Regions from separate parts of the Homo sapiens genome. Here regions 2 and 3 are each linked to region 1. The links are contacts of gene promoters, found by promoter capture Hi-C in human tissues and cell types (Jung and others, 2019). All regions are on one chromosome and are shown on one strand. Each heading gives the region's core, a stretch centred on a gene start or on the middle of the fragment in contact. The rest is flanking DNA. Distances are from core to core; before and after follow the strand shown.

What was found. Contacts are between HindIII fragments. The study calls those that stand out against the background at their distance.
Region 2: a contact is called between a fragment that was not itself captured here and the fragment with the promoter of WFDC2 in region 1, in 1 of the 25 tissues and cell types used here (dorsolateral prefrontal cortex).
Region 3: a fragment that was not itself captured here is called in contact with the fragment with the promoter of WFDC2 in region 1 in 2 of the 25 tissues and cell types used here (dorsolateral prefrontal cortex and small bowel).

What each region holds. Positions count from the first base shown.
Region 1 is chr20:45,468,171-45,471,304 of GRCh38, forward strand. It overlaps WFDC2 (WAP four-disulfide core domain 2), which reads left to right and starts at 1,583. Exons shown (of 4, transcript NM_006103.4): 1 at 1,583-1,690; 2 at 2,219-2,362. The coding sequence starts at 1,612. RefSeq lists silencers at 2,248-2,437, 2,458-2,507. The HindIII fragment of the contact is 12,073 bases long and covers 1-3,134 here.
Region 2 is chr20:45,048,067-45,051,200 of GRCh38, forward strand. The region is part of intron 10 of STK4 (serine/threonine kinase 4); the gene reads left to right. Among named protein-coding and RNA genes, the nearest start is that of KCNS1, 51 kb to the right of the region's middle. The HindIII fragment of the contact is 3,661 bases long and covers 1-3,134 here.
Region 3 is chr20:45,092,057-45,095,190 of GRCh38, forward strand. KCNS1 (potassium voltage-gated channel modifier subfamily S member 1) reads right to left here. Exons shown (of 4, transcript NM_001322799.2): 4 at 1-3,134. The coding sequence ends at 2,814. Among named protein-coding and RNA genes, the nearest start is that of KCNS1, 7.5 kb to the right of the region's middle. The HindIII fragment of the contact is 5,760 bases long and covers 1-3,134 here.

The DNA.
Region 1 (3,134 bases), core at 333-2,832:
CTGTGTTCCCACCTGGCTCCTGCCCTCATTGTTGACTGAGCTCAGAGTAAATAGCCCTGGCCCCTCCCAATAACGTCCCCAGTCCCCAAGTTGAGCATGAGAAGCTGGGGGAGGTGTTCTCAGCATCCATTTTGGGGACAGTGGCCAGATGTACTCACATCACCAAACCCTACTCACCTGTCACTATCATCCCAGTGTTCACTGCCCCAGGGCCCCTCTAGCCTCCAGCAGCAAAGACCTCCTGGGGCTTCTAGAACCTCAGATCATTGGAGCAGGAAGCACTTCTTGTCTAACTCCCTGGGTAACTCTGTTTTGGCACTTAACCCCCTGGATTCTAAAGCTTCATTTATACTTATTGGTCTCCTTCGTCACAGGAGACACTTATCTGTGGAGCACTCATGGCCATGTATCCAGTACCTATCATGGGTCAGGCCTGGAGTCCCTGTGTCAATCAGTGTGGATCTACTCTCAATGCTCCCAGTGAGTACATGGTTGTTCCGTGGCAGGAACGTTGCATTTGTGTTCTCACTGAAGTCCCATATAGGTGTCATTTTCACTGATGATGTGGCAGCTCAGATCCAGGAAAGGATTCATTCCAGGGCCCTCAGGTGGGAAGTGGTGGAGGTGGGAGTCAGACCCCAGACCCTGTCACCCCTTCAAGACCAGTGCTGGAGGGCCCCTTTTGACGACTTTCTCTTCACCAAGCGTCTTGCCCTGCATATGTCACACAGTAGGCACCCAGTGAATATTTACGACGGAATGGAAAAAACAAGGGCCTGGAGGGAGAGACCTGGGTTCAAAACCTTATTTGTACAGCTTTGCAGGGGACCTTGTGGTGGAGGTGCGGTCCTAAATCCCTAAACACTCAGTTCCTTTGTCATATACAGCTGATAACAGTAACTCCCCGGTCAGAGGACCGGCGACAATTCCTTGAGACAAGGAGCACAGAGCCTGGCACAGTCAGCCCTGATCAGGGGCCGGTAGGACAAAGAGAGGGAGACAGAAACACACACCCAAACGGCTTGAGACTGCTAGGTGCTTCACCTTCCTGGGCCTGTTTCTGATGAGGAGGGTTTGTTTATTAATAATAAGTGCTATTTCTGTAGCCCCTACTATGTGCTCTGTATCACTACCCTAGCCCTCCATCAAGAGGGATCTGCCCTCTCATCTGGCTGACCCCAAATCGAACCCTTTAACCCGCATGCTCTACTGCCTCCCTGCGGGCCCTGCCTTATCCTCCTCAACCGCCCACTGGGGACACTCTGGAGAAACCTCGGAGTCTTGGAATAGAAACCCAGGAGCCCTGAGCCTTGGCCCTCAGGCCCCAGGAGGGAGGTCAGGAGGGAGGCGTGGACAAGGGTCCGGCCGTAGCTGGTCCCGTCCTGGAAGCTGCTTAAGTTCCTGGTTCCCACCGGGGCCAAGAGTGATACCTGATCCTGGGGGATTGTGAAATGACCTCATGTGGCAGCCCGCCCGCGGTGCCCGCAAAGCCCTCCACCCTCCCCTTCCCCGCTCGGCTCCACCCCTACCCCACGCCCCCTCCCGCGCGCGCGGTTAAATCCCCGCACCTGAGCATCGGCTCACACCTGCACCCCGCCCGGGCATAGCACCATGCCTGCTTGTCGCCTAGGCCCGCTAGCCGCCGCCCTCCTCCTCAGCCTGCTGCTGTTCGGCTTCACCCTAGTCTCAGGTGAGTGGGGCGGGGAGAGGCCCGGCGCCTAGAGGGGCCGAGCCACGAGCGCCAGGATGGAGCCAGGCGGAGGCGTAGCCTCTGGAGGCTGGGGAAGTGGGAATTCCGGGGGCGGAAGTGGCGGGGACCCTTGGAGCCTAGGGTGTGGGGTCCAATGTGCTGGAGGTGGAGAGACCACTGATGGCTGCAATTTGGGAGGATTCTGTGCTGAACGCGGACACTCCGTGGCTGCAGTGGGCTGGGGGTGGGGGCTGCTCTGCCTCGACCTCGGAAGCTCCGAGACGCTCAGCTGTGCGGCGTCCCCTAGGGCTGAGATCTGAGGGCCCCGACGCCAAGGGTTAGGGAGCTCTCGTACTCCCAGGGGTCAGGGACTCCTGGTCTGGAAGAAGGAGTCTCTGGGGGCTGTAAGGGGACTCCTAGGGCCAGAGACTGAGAATTCCTTGGGGTTAAGGTTTGGAGCAGGAGGTGGGCATCCTCTGGGGCTGGCGCTACGCCCCACCCTCGACTGTCCCGGGCCTCCCCTCCCAGGCACAGGAGCAGAGAAGACTGGCGTGTGCCCCGAGCTCCAGGCTGACCAGAACTGCACGCAAGAGTGCGTCTCGGACAGCGAATGCGCCGACAACCTCAAGTGCTGCAGCGCGGGCTGTGCCACCTTCTGCTCTCTGCCCAATGGTAACCCCACGGCGGCCGAGCGGGAACGGGGCGGGGCCGCGCTGGGCTGGGAGGAGGTGGGAGGGCCCGGGTTCCGGGAACAGGGGCGCCCCCGGACCCGGGGACCCCCGGGAAAGTCAAGGCGGTTGAAACCAGATCCGTCAGTCCTCTCCCTCGCACGGCCCAGGGGTAGACAAAGGCGTCGTTGAAACGCAGCCAAGGGGGGGTCCCCACCCCTAGCTGGGATTCGAGTCTCTGGTGCATGACGGGCTTCCGGGCACGCACAGCCGGGACATTGTTCCCCGCGGCCTGGGGACCCGGGGCCGCAGTTTCCTTCTCGAACCGGCCGAAGCCTGCCCTGCGGGAAAGCCCGGAGCCTGGGGCGCTCACCTCTCCTCTTGGAGTCCCTCCCTGGGGGCCTCCCCCAGCCCTGGGGAAAGACTGGGAGAGCCTGGCCTGGCAAGATTTTCCCCAATTCCTCTGTCCAGGCGGAAAGGAACTTTACAGATTTAGGAAAATGCCCCGCTCATCTTAAAGATGTGTAAGGGAGCATCGGTGAGAAAAAAATGTTCTTGCCCAAGGTCACACCGCCATCCCATGGCTGCTGGAGTCATAGTGAGGGTTCAGCTTTTGCCTTTCAGGCCAACTGGCTGAGTGATTCGAAGAAAGTGAGGAATCCTCCCTGGACACTGTATCGCCCTTCGTCGTCTTTCAGTCAATCTCTTCCACTCTAAGGATTGAGTGAGCGCGAGCTGGGGACTCTCTCAAAGGTGCTTGCTGGAGCTGCAGTCTC
Region 2 (3,134 bases), core at 332-2,831, 420 kb before region 1:
TAAGGTTCTTTTCCTGTTCTTTTAAAAGCAGAGAAATGCTTAGGACACCCAGGACGCCAACATGAGCATAGAAGGCAGTCTGATATACTGACCAAGAGCAGATAGACTTGGATCCATTGCTGGTTTCATTATTTATGGGACCAGTAACTCTAGGCTTCTCACCCAACCTAAAATGAAGATACTAATCATATTTACTTCTGAGTTATTGAGAAGATTAATTTAAAAATGCTTTTAAAGTGCTTAGCAGAGTATCTGACACAGAGTAGGCATTCAGTAAATTTTATTTACATGTGTAACACTTAGGGTGGGAGACATGGATGAACTACTGGAAAAGGGAAAGATACTGAGGTGGGCTGCCCTAAAAAAGGAAGGTAAGAGGAAGACCTACACTTATTTCACACTTTTGTTGCAGGCCCTGCTAGTTCACACATTGTTTGCTTTGTGATTTTTTTTTTTTGAGACGGAGTGTTGCTCTGTTGCCCAGGCTGGAGTGCAGTGGCGTGGTCTTGGCTCACTGCAACCTCTGCCTCCTGCGTTCAGGTGGTTCTCCTGCCTCAGCCTCCCGCCACCATGCCCGGCTAATTTTTGTATTTTTAGTAGAGACGGGGTTTCACCATGTTGGCCAGGCTGGCCTCGAACTCCTGACCTCAGGTGATCCATCCGCCTCGGCCTCCCAAAGTGCTGGAATTACAGGCGTGAGCCACCATGCCCAGCCATGATATTTATTTTATACCTAAGATGAGCTTAATTCTGTTATGACTTTCTTGTTCCTAGGGTGAGCTTAATTCTGTTATGACTTTCTTGTTCCTAGGGTTTAAATATCAAGGATACTCACTAAAACACTGATAGACCTTTTGTGTTTTCTCTGATTGCTTCCCTTCTGTGCCTGCCTGGAGGCTATAGGTCCTGGACAGTTCCCACATTGATGTTTTTTTTTTCAAAACAGTTTTTTCCTGATGGTACATTTGTTAATGTAAAATAGCTCAAGTAAATGTATGTGCGTATGTATGAAAGAGACAGAGAGAGACAGAGAGAGCTGTATGGGATCCATCAGCTGCCGAGGGTACCCTTTCATCAAGCAGAGTTCACATTGCAGAGCATTGGATCAGAGGGTGGCCAGCAGCTGGAGGGAGAGCAAACTTGAATCTACTTTATAGACCCACTAGTCACTTCCATTTGCCCTTTACTTAGGAGAAAATACACAGCAAAAACTGTTCTTTAGACATGGATGCATCTAGTTTAATAAATCTTAATGTAGTGCTATTAAAAATGAGGTAAAGTCAGGAAATTTTCTACCCCCTCCCAAGTGCTCTTATTCCTAGATATGCAGGACCAAGCATAAAGTTATTTTCACACATTGGGAAGAAATGTTCCATTCCAATTTCAAGTGGAGGTTTTCCACTTTTGGAAGTGCTGCTGAGACTGCAATTATAAACTACAACTATTCTTTTAAAACAGTTCCTGGGATGAATTAAGATCTTGCAGTAAAAATACCATATACAATCTGTCACATTATCTGTGGAACTCTTCCCTTTGCCAGCTTGGTCAGTGAGGGTAACAGCTGCCCAGAGTTCATTGCTAAACGGATGTTTAACAATGGTACTGTGAATTCAGCACTTCATATTAGAATAATGCTTGAGTTCCTGGTATTCGGTTAATGGAGTTTTACGTACAGTGATACAGAAAATATGTGATGCACAGGATTTCAGCTTTTTAAGAATTCTCACCACTTCTCCTCCCATCTCAATTTTGTTGTTGTGGAAAATGAAAATCCCACAGGAAAGCCAAGTGTAGTCCTCATTCCCTGACTTCTGGCTTTGTACTCCATCACTTTCCACTTCCTTCCCCTCCCCTCTCTACACTGTTCACCTGGGCCTAAACGTCTGAATGACTGCAGCCTCAAGGAAAGCTTCAAGTTAGACTAGATGACCTTTAAGGTTTTGTTAATCCTGAGAATCCGTTTGGCCACATCAATGAGCTCCTTTGTATCTACTCAAATGTGATAGAACAGACGAGCATTCAGAGTAAGGGGATCTTCCTAGGCTGGCTGCAGAGAGAACAGTCAGCAGTGCTCGTGCCATGGCTACAGATTACACATCTCACTCTGGGGGTGTGTGGGGACTGGGAAAGGGGGAGCCAGTTTGGCCTGTGGCACATGTAATTTTTATACTTTGAACTACTGAAATGGGTCTGAGTTCTCCAGCTCTTCACAGACCCCATCACTTCCTGTTTTTGTTTTATGAGCAGACTGTTGAGTTTATTTCTGTTGTCTTTGCCAGTCTCTCAAAACATTTGTGTTTGTGATCTCTGATTTAACCAGTCTCCAGCTGATGGTCATTTAGGTAGCCTTCAGCTTTTTAATATTAATAAATATTGCTTTAATAACATCTTTGCATGGTACGCCCTTAGAATTAATTCCTGCAGTAGAATTATTGGGTCAAACTGTTCACAAATTTGAAATTTTGATACATATTGTTAAATTTCCCTATCGTTTTTGGTATGTGAATTGTTGCTTTATATTATTTACTGAATTTTCCATGGAATTCTTATTTTCTTTATTGATTTTAAAGACTTCTTCAGCTATCAAGTCAGGTTATGAACCTTTTAACATATGTGGTAAAGATATTCTGCTAGAATATCTTTTAAAGCTTTGTATATGGTATCTAACTTCAGACATTTAAATTTTTATATATTTTGATTTATTAGCTTTTTCTTGTGGTTTCTGGAATTTTATGTCATCTTTGGGAAAGTTTTTCACATTCTAAGATTACAAAAATATTAACCCTTACTTTGTTTTAGAATGTTTTATTATTTTTTCTTTCTCAATATTTAATCTATCATGTATTTGTCTTGGTGTTAAGAGTAAGGTAGCAATCGAGCTTTATATTTTTCTAACAACCAAGGGTTTAAAAAATACATAATTAATTTAGAATTACCAAATCTTAATAGCTTATAGTACCTAAAAGTGGCTTGTTTTTACAGATAGAAACTTTCCACTTCAAACTCTGAGTTTTAATGTTTTTCGGCTTTTAAAACCTCTAGAAAGAAACTGTGAACAGAACACCGTATTGGTTTTGGCATTAACCTTAATGCATCTCAAATAGGCTGATTCTACAGAATTTGATCCAAAGTAC
Region 3 (3,134 bases), core at 414-2,913, 380 kb before region 1:
CTCAAACTCTAATTGTTAACAGTCATTCATCACTTTAATTATTTTATAAATTACCCTTTTTGACCAAGTTTGTTCCAACTGAATTCCTGTCACTTGCAACCTGTTCTGGCTGGCACAACCACAAAGTTTGTGCCAAATCCAGGACTGGAGCCTGAGAATGTGGATTCCAAGTCATTCCACATATTGCCCACCCTCTCCAATCACTCAGACAGCATGTCAGGGAGCCATCTCCATACAAGCAGAAACACGTCCTGGGGCCCAGCTCTTTATTTGCATAATGGTTTTCACTGATACATGGGAAGGGGAGCGAGTTGTTGCTTTTCTGCCAGGACCACAAACAGCCTCATGGTAGGCTCAGGCCAGATGATTCCCTCTTGAGCTTTCTCCACATCAGTATTAGGGACCTGTTTGTAGGGTCAGAAAATATGGAAGCCGTCGGGTTTCTTGGTGTGTTCTGCAAGACCATAAGGGTGCTACACGCAGCCCTTCTGATCTGCCCCTAACCTGGGTTCAGCTGGGCCTAGATGTAAGGAGCAGAGTGTGCAGAAGGGCTGGTATGTGTGTGGTGAATTCAAGGGAGGCCCTTTGCTGCTTAGCTCCATCCTCTGTTCCAATCTGGAGACCCAGAATCCATGCGTATGTAGGGGGCCCACTATGTACTAGGCCCTGTGTATGACACACACCTTCACACATGCCATTCTCTCTGCTTGGAGTACTCCCCCCTGGAACCTCATTTGCTTAATTAGCAATTTATCATTTGGATGGCAGGTTAGATTGTCACTTGCTCAGGAAAGCCTTCTCACTTTCTCGGGCCATGGTCCCTGATACATTATACACACCTGTACTTAGTAGAGCTCGCTATATTTATGTGATTATTGCATTAGAGTCTATCTTCCCTACTAGTCGGTAAGCTTCATGAGTATAGGGATATATTTTTCCACCACTGTATCTCTTGAGACTAGTAAGCAGCCCATAAGTCAGAAGCCAGTATATCAGAGTGGCTGGGCATAACACAACGGCATGTGTGTCTGTTTGTGGGTGGCAGCGGGGGAGACACTATGGGGAACCTGAGAGTGCATGCCTCACGCAAAGGCATTCAGATTCTTAAAATATAATAAAAACACTGTTGGACTAAGCCGAAACATGACTGCAGGCCACACATGAAGCCCCAGTTTAAGACTCTTCCAACGGGTATTTGTTGAGTGAGTGAGTGAAGAACCTACAAGGAATATATTGTAAAAACTTCAAGAACCAAGCAGGGACAGGGCAGGCGGAGCTGAACGGACCTCCTTTTCAGTCTTGTTCACACCTTTTTGAGGGCCAGGTCTCTCTCTGGCTATCTTTTTTTCCCCCTCTGAGCTTGGCACCCAGTGGGCTGTAGGAATTGGTTGATCTATTCAACATTTACCAAATACCTACTCTGCACCAAGCCCAGAGTTCAAGCAGACAATGTCTTCCATCTTGAGGCTCAGGGTGATGGGACAGAGATAGCCACAGTCAGACAACAACAGCACAGTGCTGGGTGCTGTAGCCACAGTATGTGGAAAGGGCTACTGGATCCCCTCCTCTGACTTTCTCAGCAAGTGAAGAGAAGATTCAGCAGGTGGGTATGAGAGATATGCCCCCAGCAAGGGTGAGGGGGCTGGAGCTGGCCAGAAGGGAGAGGACTCTCACACATGGGCCTGGATGGGTACTCTAGGTAGGGCTGGACAATGTAGGGCTGGACGTCTGTGTGATGGGCAGAAAGGAACTGCCAAGGTCAGACTGTTGGGGGAGGGTCTTAGAAGCCAGTATTCATATATGTCAGCCCTCTGAACATTTCAGAGCTGAGCTGGCTTTAAGTTAGAGACCCCTCTGCTCTCCTTGGCTTTCATTGCCCTCTGGGTCACAGATTCTGACCATTTGACAGAGGGGCTGGAATCTGGACTTGGGGGCAGGGATTGGACCACTTTACACAGCAGGTCTTGGCGCAGCTAGGTTGTCTAGATCTCAGGCCAGGGGCCCTTCAGATTTTCTTTCTCTCACATCAGCCCTGGGAGGAAGGTCGGAAGATTATTGCTTAGCAAATCTTGCATACCAGCTAAAGAGGCAAGTACAATGCTATGGTACTTCCTCCCAGGACTCATCCTCCTTCCCTCCAGGACTCATCTTTGATTGCTGACTCCTGTTGGATGCTCCTAGAAAGGAACCACAGCTGAGATCCAGAGCTCCTATATCCAAATCTCCTGTCTGGACCCTTCCCTGGCTCTGAAAGGGATTTCTTATCTTGTGGATCAACTCTGGGGATCCATGAATCACCAAAAAACACACGCAAACTTCATGAGGGCAGAAGAAAGATGGAGTTGATGGAGCATTGCTCCAGGCACACCAACAAGCCCAGATTCCAAACCTGACTCTGCCACTTCTAATTGTGACATCTGGGAGAGGCATCGCTCATCTCTTAGCCTTGGTTTCCTCATCTGTGAAGTGGGGATAATTCTCTTTCTCCAACACAAGGCCAAACATGACCTGGTTCATGTACAGGAGGTGCTCAGGAATCATTAGTATCCTTTCAACTTCCTCCCTCTGGCTCATGCCTGCTTCATGAATGGCTTGGAGGCAGGTTTATAAAGCTTTCTGAGTTGCTTGCAGAATCTCACAGAATCTAGGGTAGCACTGTCCTGTCCTGGGCCTTTGGAGGAAGGAATGCAGCTTTTGAATCTCATTTCTCAGGACAGCATGAGTGATCCTGGGAGGCTCACTACCATGAAGAACTTTAGCAGGGGAGGAATCTCTACTGTAGGGGCATGGCAGGGGGTCACGGATCCCTGGTTTTAATACATCTGAGGGTGTGGAGGCTCACTGGGGGCCTGGCTCTCTAGATCTGCAGACTGTCCCTCCTGAGAGGTTTCTCGGGATGTCTCCAGAGATGCCTCCGACACCCCATCAATGCTGCTCAGCAAGTCCTCAAACTCTTGGTGGTTGCTGTTGCGCACGGCTGCCTCCAGAGCCTTCTGGCGCCGGTAGAAGTGGGAGAACTTGTTGAAGATGATGGTGATGGGGAGTGCTACCACCAGGATGCCCCCTAGGATGCAGCCTGAGGCTGCCAGCTTGCCAGCCACCGTCACTGGCACCACATCCCCATAGCCCACGGT